4 separate regions of the Homo sapiens genome follow, and regions 1, 3 and 4 are each linked to region 2. Evidence: promoter capture Hi-C in 16 types of primary human blood cells and fetal thymus (Javierre and others, 2016). All regions are on one chromosome and are shown on one strand. Each heading gives the region's core, a stretch centred on a gene start or on the middle of the fragment in contact. The rest is flanking DNA. Distances are from core to core; before and after follow the strand shown. Region 1 overlaps SNX30-DT (SNX30 divergent transcript). Region 2 holds the start of ECPAS (Ecm29 proteasome adaptor and scaffold). Region 3 has its middle 14 kb from the start of INIP. Region 4 overlaps KIAA1958.

Evidence for each region. Contacts are between HindIII fragments. The CHiCAGO score rates a contact against its expected background, and 5 or more counts as called.
Region 1: a contact is called between a fragment that was not itself captured here and the fragment with the promoter of ECPAS in region 2, in 2 of 17 cell types (non-activated CD4 T cells and activated CD4 T cells). The highest score is 8.7, in non-activated CD4 T cells.
Region 3: a contact is called between a fragment that was not itself captured here and the fragment with the promoter of ECPAS in region 2, in 1 of 17 cell types (non-activated CD4 T cells). The highest score is 6.3, in non-activated CD4 T cells.
Region 4: a contact is called between a fragment that was not itself captured here and the fragment with the promoter of ECPAS in region 2, in 1 of 17 cell types (total CD8 T cells). The highest score is 6.3, in total CD8 T cells.

The regions. Positions count from the first base shown.
Region 1 is chr9:112,747,010-112,749,709 of GRCh38, reverse strand. It overlaps SNX30-DT (SNX30 divergent transcript), which reads left to right. Exons shown (of 1, transcript NR_186503.1): 1 at 1-826. Among named protein-coding and RNA genes, the nearest start is that of SNX30-DT, 2.2 kb to the left of the region's middle. The HindIII fragment of the contact is 1,522 bases long and covers 491-2,012 here.
Region 2 is chr9:111,483,088-111,485,787 of GRCh38, reverse strand. ECPAS (Ecm29 proteasome adaptor and scaffold) reads left to right here and starts at 1,405. Exons shown (of 50, transcript NM_001364929.1): 1 at 1,405-1,672. RefSeq lists silencers at 1,306-1,845, 1,966-2,085, 2,356-2,700. The HindIII fragment of the contact is 4,796 bases long and covers 1-2,700 here.
Region 3 is chr9:112,730,382-112,733,081 of GRCh38, reverse strand. No RefSeq gene overlaps it. Among named protein-coding and RNA genes, the nearest start is that of INIP, 14 kb to the right of the region's middle. The HindIII fragment of the contact is 1,531 bases long and covers 568-2,098 here.
Region 4 is chr9:112,490,772-112,493,471 of GRCh38, reverse strand. The region is part of intron 1 of KIAA1958; the gene reads right to left. Among named protein-coding and RNA genes, the nearest start is that of HSDL2-AS1, 4.5 kb to the right of the region's middle. The HindIII fragment of the contact is 3,067 bases long and covers 1-2,700 here.

The sequences.
Region 1 (2,700 bases), core at 2-2,501, 1.3 Mb before region 2:
AGAGAATGCAGAGGGTTGAAATCTACCCAAAATATCAGTCAGAGACTCTGAGCTTCAAAGACCTTCCCCTATTTCCCCCAATGTAATTTATATAGGGTTGGACCCTTAGTCCTCAAGCTATCATCTTTATCTCCTCCACATAAGCCTGCCTTGGCTGGGAAAAGTAGCATTCAAAGGGCACTGGGAACAATTTTAAATGCTGCATCTAAGGAATGCCAAGTTCTGGTCCTCTTGGAGTTGGATTAAAATTGTTAACACTTTCACATTCAAGGGCTGCTTACAACTACTACAGACCCTATTATCTGTTCTTCTGAATTAGCATGAAAATGAATAGCACAATATAACTAGAAATGAGTATTTCTAGAAATGAGTATATACATCTATAGATGTATAACATCGGTTTTTCTTATTGAATGGTGCTACTTATTTTAACAACCAGGCTGCCTTAAATATAATGGACATCCGTATGGATTAAGACTCTATACAAGCTTTCTCTTTAGTACACCAGGGGAAAGTGAAAAAAGAACCACATTTGAATTCGGCTTTGTCACTACAAGTGGGTGACCATGAGCAAGTTACTAACCTCAGTGAACCTGTTCCTAACCTAAAAAGGAGGAGAATGGAGAGCAGGTAATAATACCTTATGAGATGGTTGTGAGAGTTATATAGCATTCTTTATGTCATAGTCCTAGCAAAGTGCTGGCATAAAATAGGTGCTCCCTAAATGTTAATTACCTACCTTCCTTTCCCTTTCTGTCAGATTTTCTCTACTATTCTTATGAAATAATAAAGAGTTTTTGTAATTAAATATGCTTTACTATTCTGAGTAGGGTCTGGTTGAATATACATATATATACACACACATACACACCAGGTAGGGTGCCTCACACCTGTAATCCCAGCACTTTGGGAGGCCAAGGTGGGAGGATCACTTGAGCCCATAAGTTCAAGACCAGCTTGGGCAACATAGTGAGAGCCCCATCTCTATAAAAAATGTAAAAATTAGTCCGGCATGGTGGCACATACCTGTAGTCCCAGCTACCCAAGAGGCTGAGGTGGAAGGATTGCTTGAGCCTGGGAGGTTGAGGGTGCAATGAGCTGAGATTGCACCACTGTACTTCAGCCTGGGCAACAGAAGGAGACCTTGTCTCAAAATAAAAAAAAATATATATATATATACATATATATGTGTGTGTACATATATATGTGTGTATATGTGTGTGTGTGTGTGTGTGTGTGTATTGACCTCCAAAGTCCTCCATTTGCTCAGTTTAGATTGGAGTACCACTTTTCTATGCTCCCACCAAAAAAAGGACCCAGACCCAGAGTTCCTAAAAGGCCATATGAAATAGTTGATTACAGTTTATTTATTTATTTTCCAGTTTCCTGGTTGGTCGATAGCAGCTGGCCACAATATCCAGTGGGTAGTCATCAAAACTAAAGAAAGTGAATTTGTATGGAAAGTATTTTGGTAGAAAGTTTCCACGATGAAATTTAGCCCAGCCCTGCCCATTCATATTCACCATTTCCTGTGGTATTTCAGTGTTCCTTGTGGTGGGAAATTGTCACTGAAATAATATAAGTGTCCCAGAGCATGTGACTTTGCTTCTACTAAAAGGTTTTGTTTTTTTTTTTTTTTTTTCTTGGAGACAGGGCCTTGCTCTGTCGCCCAGGCTGGAGTGCAGTGGCGCAATCTCAGCTCACTGCAACCTCCGCCTCCCAGGTTCAAGCGATTCTCCTGCCTCAGCCTCCACAGTAGCTGGGATTACAGGTGTGTGCCACCATGCCCGGCTAATTTTTGTATTTTTAGTAGAGACAGGGTTTCACCATGTTGTCCAGGCTGGTCTCAAACTCATGACCTCAAGTGATCTGCCTGCCTTGGCCTCCCAAAGTGCTGGGATTACAGGCTACTAAAAGTTTTAAAAGCAGCATGGTGGTAAGGAGGAAACGTGTAACGTTTCTCCATCAGAGCAGAAGGCTGTGGTGTTTGTTGGAACTTATGGAGGGAAGCTTGGATTTCTAGGGTTGAGCTCTGAGGAAGATAGTAGATGTATGTGTGTGCATGAGGGGCGAGGGAGGTCCCCAATGCCACCAGAACCCAAGAACACAGCATGGAGCCCTCCCAATTCATAAGGAATCTTAGACACTTAGGCTGGCACCTTTCAGGAGACAGGGCTTTGGGCCCCAGAATTTAGTACGCTTACCAAACAAATCCTATCGACCTCACTAGCAAGCGTATTGGGGCTGCCTGTGAGCACCCAGACCTCAGAAACAAAGCAGTCTCAATGCATCATTCGCTCATTCTTTCCCCTGGTACAGCATGTGCTTAGGCCTTCTTCATGTTTGTGTTAGCCGCTTATCCTCTGGTGGTTTTTAGTACAATCATAGCTTTATTCTATATGGCATCCCAAGCCCTGCCTCAGAATAACACCACCACTTCTGAAGTGGACGGCTGGTGAGGACAAAGGACGTTTTCAGAGAGCATTCAGGATGACATGTCGCAAGCCACAGAGGGCTGTATCAAACAAGGGGGGCAAGTGAGAAGGCACAATCCCCAACAGAGACAAAATTGTGTGGACAATTTAATTCAGCCAATGATGTCCCAGGAAAGAAACAAGGTCCACTTGAGTCCAGGATCTGAACAGTTTTGCTAACAAGAAATTGGAACTTGCTACTGAACCAGCAGAGGGGCTTGTGGGT
Region 2 (2,700 bases), core at 156-2,655:
ATGGTGGGTATGCAGTTGGGAGAAGACCTGTATACACCTCTCTATTGTTTGTAAGTAGTTCATTGTGTATTTATTTTGGAGGCAACATCAAATAAAAGAGGAGCATACATGAAAAAAGGGGTTGGTTAACTTAGTGTAGTATGAAGTTACAAACAAAAAAGGGTGATGGTAGTGCAGTGTTTTGAATTAACATGGAACAATGTGTGTGAAGGAATAATTGATCCAGAACTTTATTGTAGAAACCTGTCCCCATCAAAGCCATACATGGGGCTGTATATATATGTCCAGAGAAAAGGTCTTCTGCACACTTAACTGTAACTGTTAGTCATAATTTCTCTGCAGAGTGGGATGGTGGGGCTAGGAGGAAGGACTTTCACTTTTAATTTTATGATACTCCAAATCATTTGCATTTTTTTTTTACAAAAATTATGTATAATTTTTCTTTTTTTTTTCTTTTTGAGACGGAGTCTCGCTCTGTCCCCCAGGCTGGAGTGCAGTGGTGCGATCTCGGCTCACTGCAAGCTCCGCCTCCCGGGTTCAAGCGATTCTCCTACCTCAGCCTCCCGAGTAGTTGGGATTACAGGCGCGCGCCTCCACGCCCAGCTAATTTTTGTATTTTTTAATTAGAGACAGGGTTTCACCATGTTGGCCAGGCTGGTCTCGAACTCCTGACCTCGTGATCCACCCGCCTAAGCCTCCGAAAGAGCTGGGATTACAGGCGTGAGCCACCGCGCCCGGCCCAAGATCATGTATAATTTCTATAACAAAAACAATAAAGGAAATAAAAATGTCTTCAGTGTTGTACCTTGTACTTGGCCTATGTTACAACAGGAATGACATATATTCCATTTTTAAGACATTACTTAGGGCTTTATAGATTTCTGCTTTAAGGAATAAATGCAATTTCAATCTATTTAAGACTTGATTTCTTCTTATATAAAAAAAGTATCTGATCTTGTATCTAATTTGTTATGACAGTACCATCACTTAAAGTACAGCAATTATGCAACCCCTGAATTTGAATTTCATTTTGCAAGTGTACATGACCTCACGGACAAAGCGAAGGCAGAAAGTTAAAATCAGCATATCGAAAATAAATCACTCTAGTTACCGAAAAGAACATAGGGTATCTGAACAAAATCTCAGAGCTCACATAGGCATAGATACTTCCATGTGAACTTTAGGAATCTTGCCTTATCTAACTTTTGCAGGGCTGAGTGGACCCCCTGCTCCCGCTAGCCGTTTTGGGAGCACCAGCCACCTCCACACCAGAACTGGGCTGTCGGGGGCCGCTGCGGCGCAGGGGCTCGTCCGGGACTGAGTCAGCGCCGGGGCCGAGAAGTTCGGCGGGAGGCGCAGGGCGGGGCTTCCTCCCGCCGACTCCGAGCCCGGCTCTACTTTTCTGAGTCCACGTCTCTTCCTTTGGACAGGCGTGTTTCCCCAGGTCGGGCCCAGCCAACGTGACAGCCGCAGACCTCGGAAAAGGGCGCTCCGGCCCCGCCTCGAGGATTTCCCCCGGCCGCTAGGGCAGCCCGGGCCCGCTCGGCCCAGCCCCTCACGGACTGCGGCGCGCGGCTCCCCGGGGCCCGGCCCGCCGAACGCCTCGCTCTACAGCCCTCACCTCGCGGCGCCGAGCGCAGCGTCCGCGGCATGGAGACCGGCTCCGACTCAGGTCAGAGGCCCGCCCCCGGGCCGCGGGGGACTGGCCCTGCGCGCGCGGCGGCGCGGTTAGGCCGGGCCGCCCGCACAGGCCGCCGCGTGTCGAGTCCGCGCGGGGAGCGCACGCGGGGCGGGCGGCGACAGGTGGGCAGGACGAGCCGCGAGCGAGCGAGGGCGGGCGGGCGCGCGAGGGGCCCGGCGGGGGGGCCGCTGGGAGGATGGCTCAGCTCTTTCTAAATATAAAACCGGCGTGAGTTGGGCGAGCGCGGCGCGGAGTCGCAGAGCCGCCGCGCGGGCCTGGCGCACGGGGATTCGGCCGCACAGACGGCGGCGGCGGCAGCGGCAGCGGCTCCGCAGAGGCGCGAGGCTGCGGGAGCGCCCGAGTCGCGAGCTCGCGGGGGCAGCGAAGGGCGACGCTCGCGACGCGGAGGACGCAGGCGGCGGCGGCGGGCGGGCCTCGGGGCACAGCGCGGTCCGCGCCGAGTGAACGGAGGCGGCTCGCGGCCCCTGCCGCACCGCGAGCCGCGAGCCCCCCGGCCGCGCCCTGCCCCCCCAGCCCCTCCCTCGTTCCCTCCCCGGCGCAACATGGCTGCGGCCGCCGCCTCCGCCTCCCAGGATGAGCTGAGTAAGTGCCGCGGCCGAACCTGCGGCCGCGAGCCGGAACGGGCGCCGCGCGGTGCCGGGGGCCGGCGGCCGCATGAGGGCTGGGGCGCCAGGCCCGGTGGGCGGGCGGCGGCCGCGGCGTACGGGGAGCTGGGGAGCCCGGGCCTGGCGGACGGGCGGGGCGCGGACCGTCGCCGCTGGCGTTTGTAGGCCTCAGGTTTGCACCGTCACGTTGCGAAATTGAAACCGGAGCCCCGGGCGGAGCCACCTCTGCCCGCGATCCGCCCTGGCCCGGGGTCGGGGGAGCCCAGCCCCCTGCCCACTGAGCCTCGGCTGGCGGGAGGGCCGGAGCCCCGGGGTGACGGGCAGTGTCCGCCCGTCCCGTCTGACCCCGCCTGGCCCCGGGTCCCCGACGGCTGGTTGAGTTATAGAAATGGA
Region 3 (2,700 bases), core at 84-2,583, 1.2 Mb before region 2:
ACCACACCCAGCTAATTTTTGTGTTTTTAGTAGTGACGGGGTTTCACCAGGTTGGCCAGGCTGGTCTCGAACTCCTGACCTTAGCTGATCCACCCACCTCGGCCTCCCAAAGTGCTGGGATTACAGGCATGAGAAGCTACCTTCTCCACTGAGAGCTGCAGAGACAACCTGTCTGCAGAGGGGAGCCACCCTCTCCAGGGCCTCCTCTCTACTGAGAACTGAACACTGGACACATGACCTGCCTACAGAGAGGAGCTGCCCACTCTGGGTCTCCTCCAAGCTGTTGTAACACTAAATAAAGCTCTTTGTCTTGTTCACCTTTCACTTGTCTGTGTACCTTCTTCTACCTGGACACAGGACAAGAACTCGGGCAAAGGTGCTGTGACCACAGAGGTTTCTGGCCAGAAAATTGACACCCCAAAGATCCCATACACATTCAGTCCATAATACATAAGATCAATTATCACAGAATAGTAGGATATTTTTAACTTTGTCATAAATTATATGTATTGCAAATTGTATTATCTTAATACAATATATTTGTTACTAGAGAATCAGTATCAAGCTTCACTTATGTTACTTATAAACCTATATATATATACACACAAATATAACAGGAATTATCAAATATTTAATATTGCAGAAATAGTTCCTTAGCCAACAGTGCAACTGTTGTGAATAGTGAACTAATTCTGACGAGCTCCAGAATCACAAATGAGAATAAGGAAAACAGGAAAATGGACTCTCACTAAAGGGAAACAATTCTCGGTTGTGCACAATTCCACTGAATTCCTCTGATCTGAGAGGAGGTATTTGGAAGTTAATAATTTGCCTTTTCTCTTACCTAAGTTCTGCTGCTCAACAATTCCCGGCACTAAAATGCACTGTCCATTTCTGACCTCGACAGAGGCATAACTCGTAAACCTTCACAGCAGTCCAACCCAGCCGCCTTTCTTTCAAGAACACAGGGCAAGAGGTGTTTCCACAGGGTATAAATGGTGTTAGTCACAGAAGCAGACGTTCAAAGTTCCAGGTTGTTCTGTGCCAGAGCCAAATGCCAGATCCCAAGCACAGAAGTTCTCATCTGTCCTTTAACAAATTTATGTGCTCGCGTGTGTGTACTGGATCCTCTAAAATGTGGCGGCAAGAGTCCCTCCTGTTTGCTTAGGTCTATGGGCAATACTGAGCCTAATGAAGCCCAAATGACTTCATACTGTGCTATATAAATGAAGAGTTTATAATCTTTTGAATAGAGGAATCTGGTGGGAGAACTGAGGTACCATGGGGCATGCAGTGATATAGGCAAGCAAACCCAAAGAAATGCATGCCGTCGCTAAGGGCATCCTCTTTACACTGTGAATAGCGATTGCATTTGCCAAAACATCAATTGTCACATAAAATGTATTAGCTAGAATGTGTCTGTTTTGTGGGTTTGGTTGTGTTTAAGTTGTAAACCTAAATTCCAAACAATTCTTAATTTTGAGAAACATCATCATATTTATTTTGGAAATCTTATAAAGGTGAATAATCTTCATATGCAGACACAGGACTAGTGTTGACTGACAACTGTTAGAAATGGATGATCAAAACTTATCATTTCTGTTGCCAATTACTAAAAGATTTCTCAAAATAAAGCCGGGCATGGTGGCTCACGCCTGTAATCCCAGCCCTTTGGGAGGCTGAGGCAGGCAGATCACCTGAGGTTGAGAGTTCAAGACCAGCTTGGCCAACATGGTGAAATTCCATCTCTACTAACAAATACAAAAACTAGCTGGACGTGGTGTTGCATACCTGTAATCCCAGCTACTAGGGAGGCTGAAGCAGAAGAATCGCTTGAACCCAGAAGGCGGAGGCTGCAGAGAGCCAAGATTGCACCACTGCATTCCAGACTAGGTGACACAGCGAGACCCTGTCCCAAAAAAATTAAAGATAAAATAAAAAAATTTATCAAAATAGATGATTTCTTTTAAAATGTTCTAGGAGAACTACATACTAAAAAGAAGCTACATAAGTGGCAGCAAGAGAGACAAGCATGTTATTAATTCAGAGCTACAGTCCCACATTTAAGTATTAGAAGGTAGATACTGAGCAGGAAGCTTCCTTTCCAACAATGGTGAGGGGGCCTCTCTGAACCTATTCTGATTCAGGGGCTGCCCAATACAAAACTAAAGATTTTTTTAAAATTTAAAAATAAAGGGAAAATACCTGTAAAATACTGCATTTTAAGCTCTTCTAAGAGGCAATATTAGCTAATGTCAATGCAAAATGTTATCTAACTTGTCTTTTCATCCACACTGCCCAACATGGTGCCTTGCACGTAGAAAGCCCTTAATAAGAAAGCAAATTGCAAAAGGATATACGGTTGACCCTTGAACATCATGGGCTTGAACCATGTAAGTCCACTTATACAGGGATTGTTTTACAACCAACTGCAGATTGATGCTACAGTGTTCATAGTATGCAAAACCCGCGTGTATATACAGAGGGCTGACTTCTATACGTGAGTTCTTCAGGGCTGACTAACAGACTTGAATATACTCGGATTTTGGTATACGAGAGGCTCCTTGAATCAATCTCCCACATGTACCAAGAGATGACTATGTATATATATATAGATAGATAAATAGCTCTCTCTCTCTCTATATATATATATATATGGTGTATATATGTATATAGTATTTATATGTATATATTATGTCA
Region 4 (2,700 bases), core at 96-2,595, 1.0 Mb before region 2:
TCAGAGATAACTCCTAAATTTCTGGACTGGGAAAATGGATGGAAGGTGGTACCAACTCACTGAGCTAAGGAATAAAAGAAAAGACACAGATGTGAAGAGGACAATAAGTCTGGGGCATGTTGAATGTGAAATGCTTGTGGAAAATTAAGTGAATATATCCAGTCGTAGTAGGACACAAAGATGTGGATTTCAGGAGAAAAGCCCCGACTAGATATTAGATTCAGGAATCATCAGACATGCGTGAAAAGAACAAATAGTGCATAACTTACCATGAGAGCAGCAAGACCAATAGCTGAAAAAAAAAAAGCACTAAAAGAAACAAGTCCTCAGAACTCAGAAGAAAATAACAGCATTAGCACTTCCACTGAATTTGGCCACAATAATATTCTCCAGTATTCCAAAACAACTATTAAGAATTTTGGCCAGGCACAGTGGCTCAGGCCTGTAATCCCAGCACTTTGGGAGGCCCAGATAGGAGGATATCATGAGCCCAGGAGTTCAAGACCAATCTGGGACACACAGGCCTCATCTCTACAAAAAAAAAAAAAAAAAAAAGTGAGCTGGGCTCTGGGTGTGCACCTGTGATCCCAGCTACTCAGAAGGCTGAGGTGAGAGGACTGCTTGAGCTCAGGAGGTCGAGGCTGCAGTGAGCTGTGATCACGTTAGTGCGCTCCATCCTGGGCAACAGAAAAAGATCCTGTCTCAAACAAACAAAAAAAGGATTTTGTACTTTAAGTCATTAAAAATAAAGCATTTAAAAACAATGAATATGAAGAGTGAAAAACAAAAAGCCTTTAGCTACTTTATTTTTAATGACTATATATAGAGTTGATCATATTGCTATGTATTGGGGCCTGGGATTCAAGTGAAAAATTGCCAACAAAATCCCACATGTGGAGTGAGGTATGTATGTACATATGTAGGTAGGTAGGTATACATGCATGAAAGGCAGTAGGTAGAGGGATGGACTGTGTTATAGGCTGAACTGTATTCCTCTCAAATTCATCTGTTCACATCCTAAACCCTGGTACCTCAGAATGTGACTTATAGGGGAAGTAAGGCCTGGAATAGAGGTAATTAAGGTAAAATGAAGTCATATGTGTGTGCCCTAATCCAATGTAAGTGATGTTCTTAAGAGGAAATTAGGACACACACATACACAGAGGGAAGACCAAGTGAAGCCACCTTAGGAAGACAGCCATCCATCAGCCAAGAGAGGGGCCTTAGAAGAACCTAACCCTGCCAACACTTTGAGCTTATACTTCTAGCCTCCAGAATTGTCAGAAAATAAATTTTTGTTGTTTAAGACAACCAATCTGTGATTCTTTGTTATGGCAGCCCTAACAAATTAATACAAGCTGAGAAGAGGAAGTAGTCCTAGCTGGTTAAGAATTCACACATATTGTCAACTCCGTCCCAGAAATATGAAGTCCTATAACAGAAAAAAGGATAGAGCTTTTGATATATGGTGATTATGCCTTAAATCATGCAAGGAAAATATTTTTAAAATAATAAGTATTTCCAGAGGAAAATATAAGAAAAAACTGAAGGGACAGAATATTTGCAATTAAAAAAGGACAGAAAAGGTTAAAGCAGTATCAGTTTTGAAGAAAACCAAGAATAAAAAGAGAAGCCAACCAAGAAGTATCCTATGCATGAAATGAAAGTTAACCAAAGAGTAAATGAATCATCTAAAAACAATCCAGAGAAGCAAGGGAAAGCAATGGAAGCAACTTTGGATAATTATTTAGAATTAAAAAGAGTTATGTGTATGTTAAGTTCAGCTAATGAAATCCTTGATGATTAACAAACAAAAAACATTTTCAGGCATCAAGTGAAAATATATTTCCAGTAGGTTTTAATGGAATTTTGGTTCTTTGCAGGTTTCTTAAGGAAAAAAAAAACAAAAAAAACAAAAAAAAAAACCAGCTAATAATTACTAGCCATTCCATACATATTACTTTTTGTCCTATCTCTGGAGCTAAAGAGGCCATAGATTTCCAGAGGAGAGTAAGGTGAAGGAGAAAGCTATTCTCTAACTTGCAGCAACCAAGGGGGGAGCTACTCCCTGGTGCTAGGTTGGCCAAAGTTCATGCAGAGAAGAAAAAAAGCTAGAGTAGAAATTCAGCATTTTATGGTAAGATTTTTAATGTTTTTAAATATTGCTTCAACGTTTTAACGTCTTCTTAAACTTTTTTAAAGTTATGGCTGGACGTGGTGGTTCACACCTATAATCCTAGCACTTTGGGAGGCCAAGGCAGGAAGATCATTTGAGTCCAGGAGTTCAAGACCAGCCTGGGCAACACCGCAAGACCCCATCGCTACAAAAAATAAGAAAAATTAGCTAAGTGTGATGGCACGTGCCTGTAGTCCCAGCTACTTGGGAGGTTGAGATGTGATCCTTTGGGCCCAGGAGTTTGAAGAGGCAGTAAGCTATGGTTGCACCACTGTATTCCAGCGTGGGTGACAGAGTGCGACTGTGTCTCTAAAAAACATAATGTTATATCTCACATCAAAGTTGTATAATTTCTTTTGATACATAATGTTACTTCCTTTCAGTATAAGAATATCACTGTTGTCCTAGACCAAGATTCTTTGCTTTCCATATTATTTTCAAGTGTAATAACATGTTTCTGAAATACATCTTCTTTGTCACTAGAGCCATTAGCATTACCACTATGAACACTAACGGTGAAAAAG